Linked DNA regions of Homo sapiens: region 2 is linked to region 1. Evidence: promoter capture Hi-C in human tissues and cell types (Jung and others, 2019). All regions are on one chromosome and are shown on one strand. The core of a region is centred on a gene start or on the middle of the fragment in contact, and the rest is flanking DNA. Distances in the headings are between cores, read along the strand shown.

The links. Contacts are between HindIII fragments. The study calls those that stand out against the background at their distance.
Region 2: a contact is called between a fragment that was not itself captured here and the fragment with the promoter of METTL4 in region 1, in 3 of the 25 tissues and cell types used here (H1 embryonic stem cells, hippocampus and mesendoderm cells).

What each region holds. Positions count from the first base shown.
Region 1 is chr18:2,569,574-2,574,235 of GRCh38, reverse strand. METTL4 (methyltransferase 4, N6-adenosine) reads left to right here and starts at 2,731. Exons shown (of 9, transcript NM_022840.5): 1 at 2,731-3,087. NDC80 (NDC80 kinetochore complex component) reads right to left here and starts at 2,679. Exons shown (of 17, transcript NM_006101.3): 1 at 2,553-2,679; 2 at 1,150-1,259. The coding sequence starts at 1,250. RefSeq lists enhancers at 2,674-2,833, 2,716-3,638. The HindIII fragment of the contact is 12,565 bases long and covers 1-4,662 here.
Region 2 is chr18:2,350,158-2,354,819 of GRCh38, reverse strand. LOC105371961 (a long non-coding RNA gene) reads right to left here and starts at 4,240. Exons shown (of 4, transcript XR_935097.4): 1 at 4,019-4,240; 2 at 3,391-3,596. RefSeq lists an enhancer at 3,036-4,235. The HindIII fragment of the contact is 6,362 bases long and covers 1-4,662 here.

The DNA.
Region 1 (4,662 bases), core at 1,482-3,981:
ATTTCCGTCTTCTCCCTATGCTTCCTAGCCTCTAGCATCCATTTTATTTTTTACTTCTATGAGATAAACTTTTTTAGCTTCCACCTATGAGAACATGTGCTGTTTGTCTGTTCCCTGCTTATTTCACTTATTTACCAAGAGAAAGAAAAGTGTAGGTAGGAAGTCCAGTTAAGACAAAATGGTCAAAGGTAAGGCTTGTTATGCAGATTTAAGTCTTTTGCTTCTCTGCAGAACAAAAACCCTATCTACATTATGATTTCCATTATCTTAACCACATTTACATTTTTTTTTTTTAGAGCCTGCTCTGTATTAGAATGTAGCTGCACTTATTACATTATCTAAACTGCAGGCAAAAAAACATTGACAATGGTGACCTTTTAGCTTCTAATACAATTAAAGGCATAACTTTTTTTGGTATAAGTAATGTATAACAGCACAAACATTTTCTTGGTTTACAGTATTCAAAAGGAAAAATATATAAATATTTCAAATTTCTAAAAGTAACATAGGCTCATACTATGTAAATCCAAGTAATTTAAAAACAGTTAGCAAGTAACTTGTACCTCGGTACTAGAGAAGAATTATACAGCTCTACAATGGCTTACAAATAGCCTTCTCTTATCTGGAAGATAATCACTCATAATGAAAAACTATAGTTTATGACAGCAGGTTCTTTCAGATATTTTTCCAGCAAATCTTGAGGAAAGAGTTCGGAGGAGTGGTGTTTTGTAGGCTGCTACTATATTATACCTTATGAGAGCAAATAATTTTGCTCTGATTTGATTGAAGCTTTGCTAATTGGAAATATCTCAGTGAACTCTAAGTTACAGCACAGAGCCTGCTTAAACAAGTAGCTCTAGAATAAAAGAGAAAAATAAGAGAGTACTGAACAAGAATTAACAGTCCTTTTAGGGGGTGCCTGGTAAAGCATTTGGCTTTGGAAATTTGTGAAACAAATGACACAAACAACACCTAGCAGAGTATCATGCCCACTTTTAGATTTCATTGATCCAAAATTAGGTACCCCTGGGAACAGACAAGATTCACCAAGACATCACTCATATTACATCTTTATATTAACTATTTCTTATGATTTCTTTGCCTAAGATGATAAAGCATGCAAATTAGAACCACAAGGGAAATACTCACGTTTGAGGGGTATAGAGGCCTTGTTTATTTACATCCTGGGATCTTAACTCCTGCATGGAGAGGCGGCCAGCACCACCGCTGGAAACTGAACTGCGCTTCATGCTTATGACCTACATTCACGAATTCAGTATTTAAAAAAAACTTTCCAGACAGAGATGGTACATTAAGCAACTATTTATCCTTAAACAGAAAGACAGTCAGGTTTCATTGTTTCTTCAAGATCATCATCTTTCCCCTGGGGTATCTCTTTTTTGTTCATGTACACTGAAGTTCTCATTTGCAAGGAACATCTATTTAATTCCATTTAAAAATATTCAACATAAACATTTATTAACTGCCCACTATATATATAGGGGAGTGTGCTAGGCAATGCAGGAGATGCAAAGACGAGTAAGTTACGGTTTTTGCCTTCACAAGGGTATCCGTGGTAGCTAAAGCCCTGTCTGTTACCCAGACCACATTACTGCTGTTGGCTGTGCCTATTTCAATAGGAAGACAAAAAAATTACCTCAAATTCTCTTATTCACCTCAAAATGTTTCCTTTTCTTTGGTTTCAGAGAATGGAATTATTCTGTTTTCCTAATGTCAATCTCTCCTGCTCTGTCCTTAACCCATTGTTTCCTCAATTACTGCCCTTTTGGCATCAATCTCCCCTTCAACAAGGATAAATCATCCGGTCCATAAAATGGTCTATAGGCTGCCTCCATTTACAAACCACATTAACAGGTCACTCCCTTCACATCTGCTAAAAAATTTGTCTCCTAGGATACACATGATTGACAAAACTTTTGATCCTGTCTCATCTCTGCACCCAGCCTTCTCAGGTCCTGCCCTGGCTTTCAGGAAGGTGACAATCCTTTTACTTCTCTGGGTACTCCTTAGTCTTTTACACTGATTAGACTCTTCTTGATTTTGGCCGCCTATTTCCTCTTCAATATGCGCTTGTTCATCTATTCAACTTTTCCACTCACACCTGTGTGTCCACGTTTAATCTCCACTTAGAATGTAGCTCTCATGATTTAAGATGAAGACTTCTACACGCAGTCCTACACGGCCATAAGAAGCTACACTAGTATTCAGACGCAACCCACCCAACGAGTCCTCTCTTGTCCATCTCTTTCCGCCCCCTTCAATTCTTCCCCGTTTCCTCTCCCGAGCCTCCACTCCTCATCAGTGTCCCCCAGGCCCTCCCCTTTCCTCCTTGGGAAATCGTTGCCACTAGAAATTTAATAGATCCCGTGAAACCAGCGCCTCGCACAGTTTTGGCCTCGAGGCTTCTCCCAACAGCAAACAAACACCAAAACATCGCCTCAGGACCTCTAAATTTAAGTCATTGGCGCCATCACTTTCTTCCTCCAGAACAGCTCTGCAGAAACAAAGTTAATCCGATGTCATTCAGTCACCTTTTTTCCAGTTTCCTGACACGACCCAGGGACCGAATTTCTGTAAACCGTGCAAGTATCTGCTAGACAGGACAGCGGTCATCAAAACACCAGGTCCTTCCTCGGCCCGCCAAAGCCGTTCGAATTTGAAATTCTCCGCCGGCGCTGACGTCATTACGCACGACGCGCGCAGTAACTTCCATGCGACCGCCTCGTCGCTGGAAGGCTGCGTGCTGGTCGCGCCCAGCTGCGTCACCCCAGGAACTGGGGTCTGTGGGCCAGTGTGGCCGTCTCTACGAAGACTGGCACGACCCCTAAAGTTAGGTCGGAAGACCTGTGGGCAGCTTGAGCGCCGAGGAGTGCCCTGAACGCTCAACTCGCCCTGGAAACGTTTTTCCGTACAGCAACATGGCGGCGCCCATGGACTCTTAGAAAAGGAGAAAGCTTTTTCTCTGTGGACTGGAAGGGGCATTTTTCATGATCACTATTTAGATGGGTGCTGTTTTCATGAGGAGAGTCTGGGAAGGCGGCGTCCGCTTTTCTGACAAGGGAAGAGGTGAGGTGGGAGAGGGGCTGCGGAGTGGGTGGAATGGGCTCCCAGGATTGCGTTGGTACGGCTGCCGAAATTCGGGCTCAGTATTTGATCACTTGCCGGAGGCTCACGGTCCTCTGGTGGTGGCTGACCTGTGAGAGGCTAGGAAGAATCCAAGTGTTTGGGGGCGGGCGGCGAGGGAGTGGATGTGAAGCAGAGACGCAGGAGAGGGGTGCACTAACAACAGTAACAGTAGATCACTTTGCTAAAATAGGATTTCCTCGCTGCTGTGAGTTTGAATCCAGAAACAGGCACTGCCCGGTACCTGGAGAGTGGTGGTGATGAAAGATCTCACAGCTCCAGGAAGTCTGGATACTTGGGTCTGGTAGCAATTGTGCCATTAACTAGCGTTGTTATTTTTGGGCAGCTTGCCTTTCTGCTCTGAGTTTCAATTTTCCCGTCTGAATTTCTAGCTCTCACTAGCCATTCCAGGACCCTTTTCACCTCAGCTGTGGCCTATGAAGGGGATGGGGAGGAACCAAGGATTATATTAATATAAAAATTATATGAAAATTAGGCAACCGTCTGATAATAAAAAGTCTCCTTGTGGAATACTGTTAGGTTAAACTTTACCTACAGATTGTTAAATCCTTAGCACTAATGTTTTCCCCAGAAAAGATTAATGGAAACATCATTTGCTTTTCTGACTAGATAGTTGCTGCTTCCAAAGGTGGTTTTACACAAATACAAAATTAAAAACACCTTTAGTACAGAAATAATTGCTTGTATTTCGGTATACATTCACAGTACAGTTCAGCATTTAGTGGTCCTGCTAGCAATTTGCCAGGAAGTCAAGCCTGCCAATTTCCTGATATTCCTGCTGTGCACCCCAACTTCTTAATCCCTGCTGAGGATCTTGAGAAGCAGCAGCACCAAAACCAAAGTAGGCACCAAATTCAAGGTTCTTTTGGTTCCGGTTGTCACATTTCAAGCTAGACTCCAATAGATGGAAGGATGATCACATGTGAGCCCTGTTTAAAACTTCAATTTTTAAGAGCAAGCACAATTGCAGGAAAAGAAAACAATTCAGAGGGATCATGTGTGCTTACAGTTGTCTTCATGTGGCCTTTTCCCAGGTTTAACCACCAAGGACCCTGACAGCCGGGGTGTCTGAATAACCCTGGTGACTCTTTTCACCATATCAAAACCTGAGTTAAAAGGCTGATGATAACAGCAGAAGGTGGCAGGGCTGAGGACCCACTATTAATTTCCTAGGCTGGTGGAGAGTGAATAAATGTTCTTCCAACCTTACCTTATGGCTTCTGGTCAAAGCAAAGAAGTGTCGTGGAAAGTGTTGGGTGGTGACAGTGCAAAAAGAGACTTGACGGGGAGGGAGCAGCATCTCTTGATAAAGGTGGGGAAGAGAAGATATGGGGAAAGCCCTGAATTCCTCATGGAAGGCGAATCTCAGAGGGGAGCGGAGCAGAGGGCTTATGATCTGTGCTTTGGCCAAGGGTGGGAGTGGAAGAGGTGGGGACAGGACAGTGGTTTGGAAGGAGCATCACTGAATACTTAAACTGAGTGCCCACACACTCAGCA
Region 2 (4,662 bases), core at 663-3,162, 220 kb after region 1:
ACCAAATAGATAGGCTTTCAACTCTTGCCCCACTTTCTCCCTCCCTCTTCTTGTACTCCCCAGTGCTTATTGTTCCTATCTTTATGTCCATGTGTACCCAATATTTAGCTCCTACTTATAAATGAGAACACATGGTATTTATTTTTCTGAGTTAGTTCACTGAGGATAATGGCTTCTAGCTGCATACAACGCGGACGAACTTTGAGGCCATCATGCTAAGTGAAATAAGCCATTCACAAAAGGGCAAACACAGCAATGATTCCACGTATATGAAGTATCTAGAGTAATCAAATCCCTAGAGACAGAAAGTAGAATGGTGGTGGCCAGGGGCTTGGAGGAGGGGGTAGGAGTTATTGTTTAACTGGTACAGAGTTTCAGTTTTGCAAGATGAAAAGAGTTCTGTGGATGAATGGTGATGATGGTCGTACAATGTGAATGTCACTGAAATTTACAGTTAAAATGGTTAAGATAGTAAATTTTAAGTTATGTATGTTGTACATACATACATTTCAAAAAAGATATTAGACTAAACTCAAGGTCTTTGAGATTTGGGATGAATTTTAGATCCATGGTTATGACAGAGAATAAGGGAAAGTGGGAAATTAAATTTTTTTCTTACCATTCTACATGGCCCACAGTAAAGATCTATAGAACATTAAACTTTTCTATGATTAAGATTAGCCCTTTGCAACAAACAGACAGTAACACGATTAAATAATGGGCGAGTCATGTGTTCTGCCAAGGACTATTCCTCATAGGATCTTAGGTAGGATATATCATCTTAGAAAAGAATGCTTTGTGTGTTTGGCACCAAGACAGGTGTGCTATGAAGAGGAAGTGTGTTTTAGGGTTGAGGGGAGAAAGGTGGAAGTTTAAAAGATGTATTTTAAGACAAATTGTGTTCAACATGGATATGTCAAACATGGCACATATTACTACGCTCACAGATGAGTGAGCATAGGAATAAGAAAAATCCATTCTCACTCTTTTTCAGTTACCGAGAGCCTCGGCGCATACATCCTTTTAGAATATTTTCTACCCTGAAAGGATATTTCTATTATTTATCTTTAATAAAAACTCTTAGTGTACATTAACTTTTAAAAAATGTAATAATATATTTGACTCTTTCTATGTTGGAAAAAATAATTCTTGAACATCACCATAATTGGTTTGTAGAATTCCACATGATAGAGGTGCACAATTTACCTAGTCAGTTCTCCATTATTGGACCTATAATTTACTTACACTTTCACAGGGAGCATGATACGATTTGCAGTTTTGAAACATCATGCCAGTAGCTTGCAGTCAAGTTTAACTCGGCCACTTCCTAGCCCAGCAACTTTGGGCAAACCACTTAACTTTCTGTCTCATTTTCCTTGTTATAAAGTAATAATAATAATGATAATTATAAATCTAATATTTATTGAAAGCTTATTATGCAGTAGGTATGGTGCCAAGTGCTTTTACATCCATTGTGTCTTTTATACATTAAACACAGGCAGTAGGTACTACTGTTATTACCATGCTAGAGATGAATGCTGACTTAGGTATCATGCCCAAGGTCATACATCTAGTAAAAGGGAGAGCCAGGACAGTACCTGCTTCAGAGTTTCCATGACGACTAAATGGGAAAATATATGCAAATGTATTTTTAAAAGTGATTTTTCCATGTAAACCCTGAGATGACTCCTGCCATTTTCATTGGGGAAATAAAATAGTGGCCGGAAGGTTTAGAGAGTTTTTTTTTTCTATTTTTAGAATAAAAACTAAATTCTGAAGCATGGTTCACATCACCAGTTTGCTTAAATACTAGGCAATCATTTCCTGTGGTTGCCAGGATTAAACACCAATACCTCACTGACAATTTCTAGTTTGACCTAATGGCTCTGACAATTCAACTCCGTCCCTCCCCATGCTATATGCCTCAGCCAGAGTGGGTTCCCTACAGTTTTCTTCTTTTAAATTTATTTTTTTTTGATGCATAATAGATGTACATAATTTTGGGATCCATGTGAGAATTTAATACATTCATATAATTTGTAAAGATCCAATCAGTGTGCTTGGGATGTCCATCACCTTAAACATTTGTCCTTTCTTTATGCTAGGACTATTTGAATTATCTTCTACTTATTACGAAATATACAATAGATGACTGTGAACTAGAATAACCCTACTGATCTCTTTAACTCTATGTCTTATTTCTTCTATCAAATCACATATTTGTATCCATTTATAAATTTCTTTTCATCTCCCTCTTCCCTACACTTTTCCGAACATATCAATTTGTCTTTCCTCATCATCTTAGCATGTTTTCCTCTGTGTCTGGAATATTCTCCACCAGTCTCTAATTATTGATATTCTTTGAAATGATCTCAAGTGCCAATGTAGCCATGAAATCCTAATATTTACAAATGAATATACATTTCCACTTCTGCTGTTCTGAATTGACGCTCACCTTACTGTGCCTTTTATTGTGAACATTCATTTCCTGGTGTGTAGGTGCTTAAAAGCCAGGATTAATGTACCAGCCATTTGGCATCTCTTTCAGAACCTGAGATTTAAAGAACTGGAAGAAAGCCAATGTGTGGGGATGTGTGTACGTGCACACATGTGGGAGTTCTGAGGGAGCGATGGATCATTTCGTTAATTTCTTTCAACAGCACCCAAACAAATTATTAGATATCTGCCTTGTGAATTTTGCCTTAGGAATGTTGTTCCTTTCAACGAGAGAAATTGAAACCAGAAAATACCAGGTCAAATAGGAATAAGGAAAGTTACTGTCACTTAGATGTAATTAAAATCTAGCCTAACAGTGAGAGGAGGTTCCAGCTGGGCTTCCTGGGTTGATTAGGGGCTCAGAAAGCTGTGAAACTCACTCCTTTCCTGCATCAGGACTTACTTTGGTCCTGGATGAATAATATTAAAGATATGTGCTTAAAATAATATTCCTAACATCAAAACTTGGGCATGTGTTTTCTTCCCCCAAGAAAGCTATAAACAGCGAAACTTTTGCTGTAAGCTTCCCTGTGTCCTCGCTCCCTCTCTCCCTTGCCCCTTCCCTGAAACTAAAAGGAATGTTAAAAGCCCATTTTCCTGCGATCAGCAGACCTTATCTATGTCCCAATTCCAATTCCTTGTCAACACAATCTGTAAAGTCCTGTGAGATCCTGTCTCCTTTGCCATGCCGCTGCAAGGTCATAAAGCAGGTAAAAGTTAAGTTACCATGCCGGTTTTCCTCAAGATCTAAGACATCTTAATCGTCTTTGTTTCTTGCTCTGGTAACATCTTCCCACCTCGGGTATTTCCCGCCTTAAAGAGTTTAAAAGGTGATCAAAAGATCTAACACTGGCTACCCGCGGGGGACCCTTCCGCGCTGTGGAAGCTTCCTACCGTCACTCTGCTCAGTGAAGCCCACAGCCTTTTTCTCTCGGTCCGATCCGTGTCTCTGTCACCGCGGGCTGCCCTCACACCCAATCTTTGGCGTCGCTAAAGCAGGAACCTCCGGCGTGACGGGGGCACATACCACCCAGCCCGGCCTGGCCAGGCAATCGGACTCGATCTTCAGATGATCTTACAATTGGTCACAAATAGGGGTCCTGCGAGGAGAGAAAGCTTTGTCAAGCTGACGTCTCAATCCTGTTTTGAATGAATAGGCACAGGACGGACTCATTACGTCAGCACTGTGTAGGGCCGCAAGCTTCCTGCTCACCTACAGAGAATACATACTGCTGCCTTCCTCTTTGGCTTGCAATTTTACTCAAGGACACACACACACACACACACACACACACACACTCCCACACGCTGGCCTTTCTTTGACCTACTTGTCTCAGAAACCCCTTCTTCAGGAAAAAGTTTTTTCTGACTTTTGAAAATGTAGCCTAAGTAAGGGATGAGCAAGGCTTAGGCTTCTGCCAAAATGGCGGCTGTGGAGAGAAGTGGCCGGATATGGAAGGCTCCCCCTCTCCAGCGCTAGTCTCCAGCCGCCATCTTATTCAGGCCCTCGTTGGTTTCTCACCCAGATGACTGCAACAGCTTTCTCATTCGTCTCCTGTCTGATGCCTCCCTTTCCAACCAACCTGCACATGGCTACCAGACAGATATTTCTAAAATTCAAGCCTGAACGTAACACTCCGCTTTTGAAGTGGTCCAATAACGTTCCACTACTTTCAAAATAAAGTTCGTAATAAGTTTAGCATGCAAGCTTCTCCATTATCCAGCCCCTAGTTCTGGCTCCTGCATCATCTTTAGATATACGGAACCTCTAGCAGCGCTGGGATAGGGTCATGCCTTATGACGCTCTATGGCTTCCCGCATGTTCTTCCCTCTGCTCAGAATGACTTCCCACCACCTGTTTTCCTAATTAATGTGTACTCTACCATCACATCTCTGCTCAATATCACCTCCCTTGAAAGGAATCCTGGTGCTCCTAATCTGATTTACATACCCCTGGCTACCCAAGCAAGAGCTAAGATAATTACCTGACCCTTGTGCCTATCCCAATTCATTGTGAAATTCTTGAAGTCAGGGAGTATCTTGTTCCAATTTTGTACTGAATGAATTGCTAAGGTTCAATCATCAATGGAGATGTAGTTGATACTTATCAACTACAATATGTTAAATACAATTAAAATTTTATTATTCAGCATTAATTGATTATAT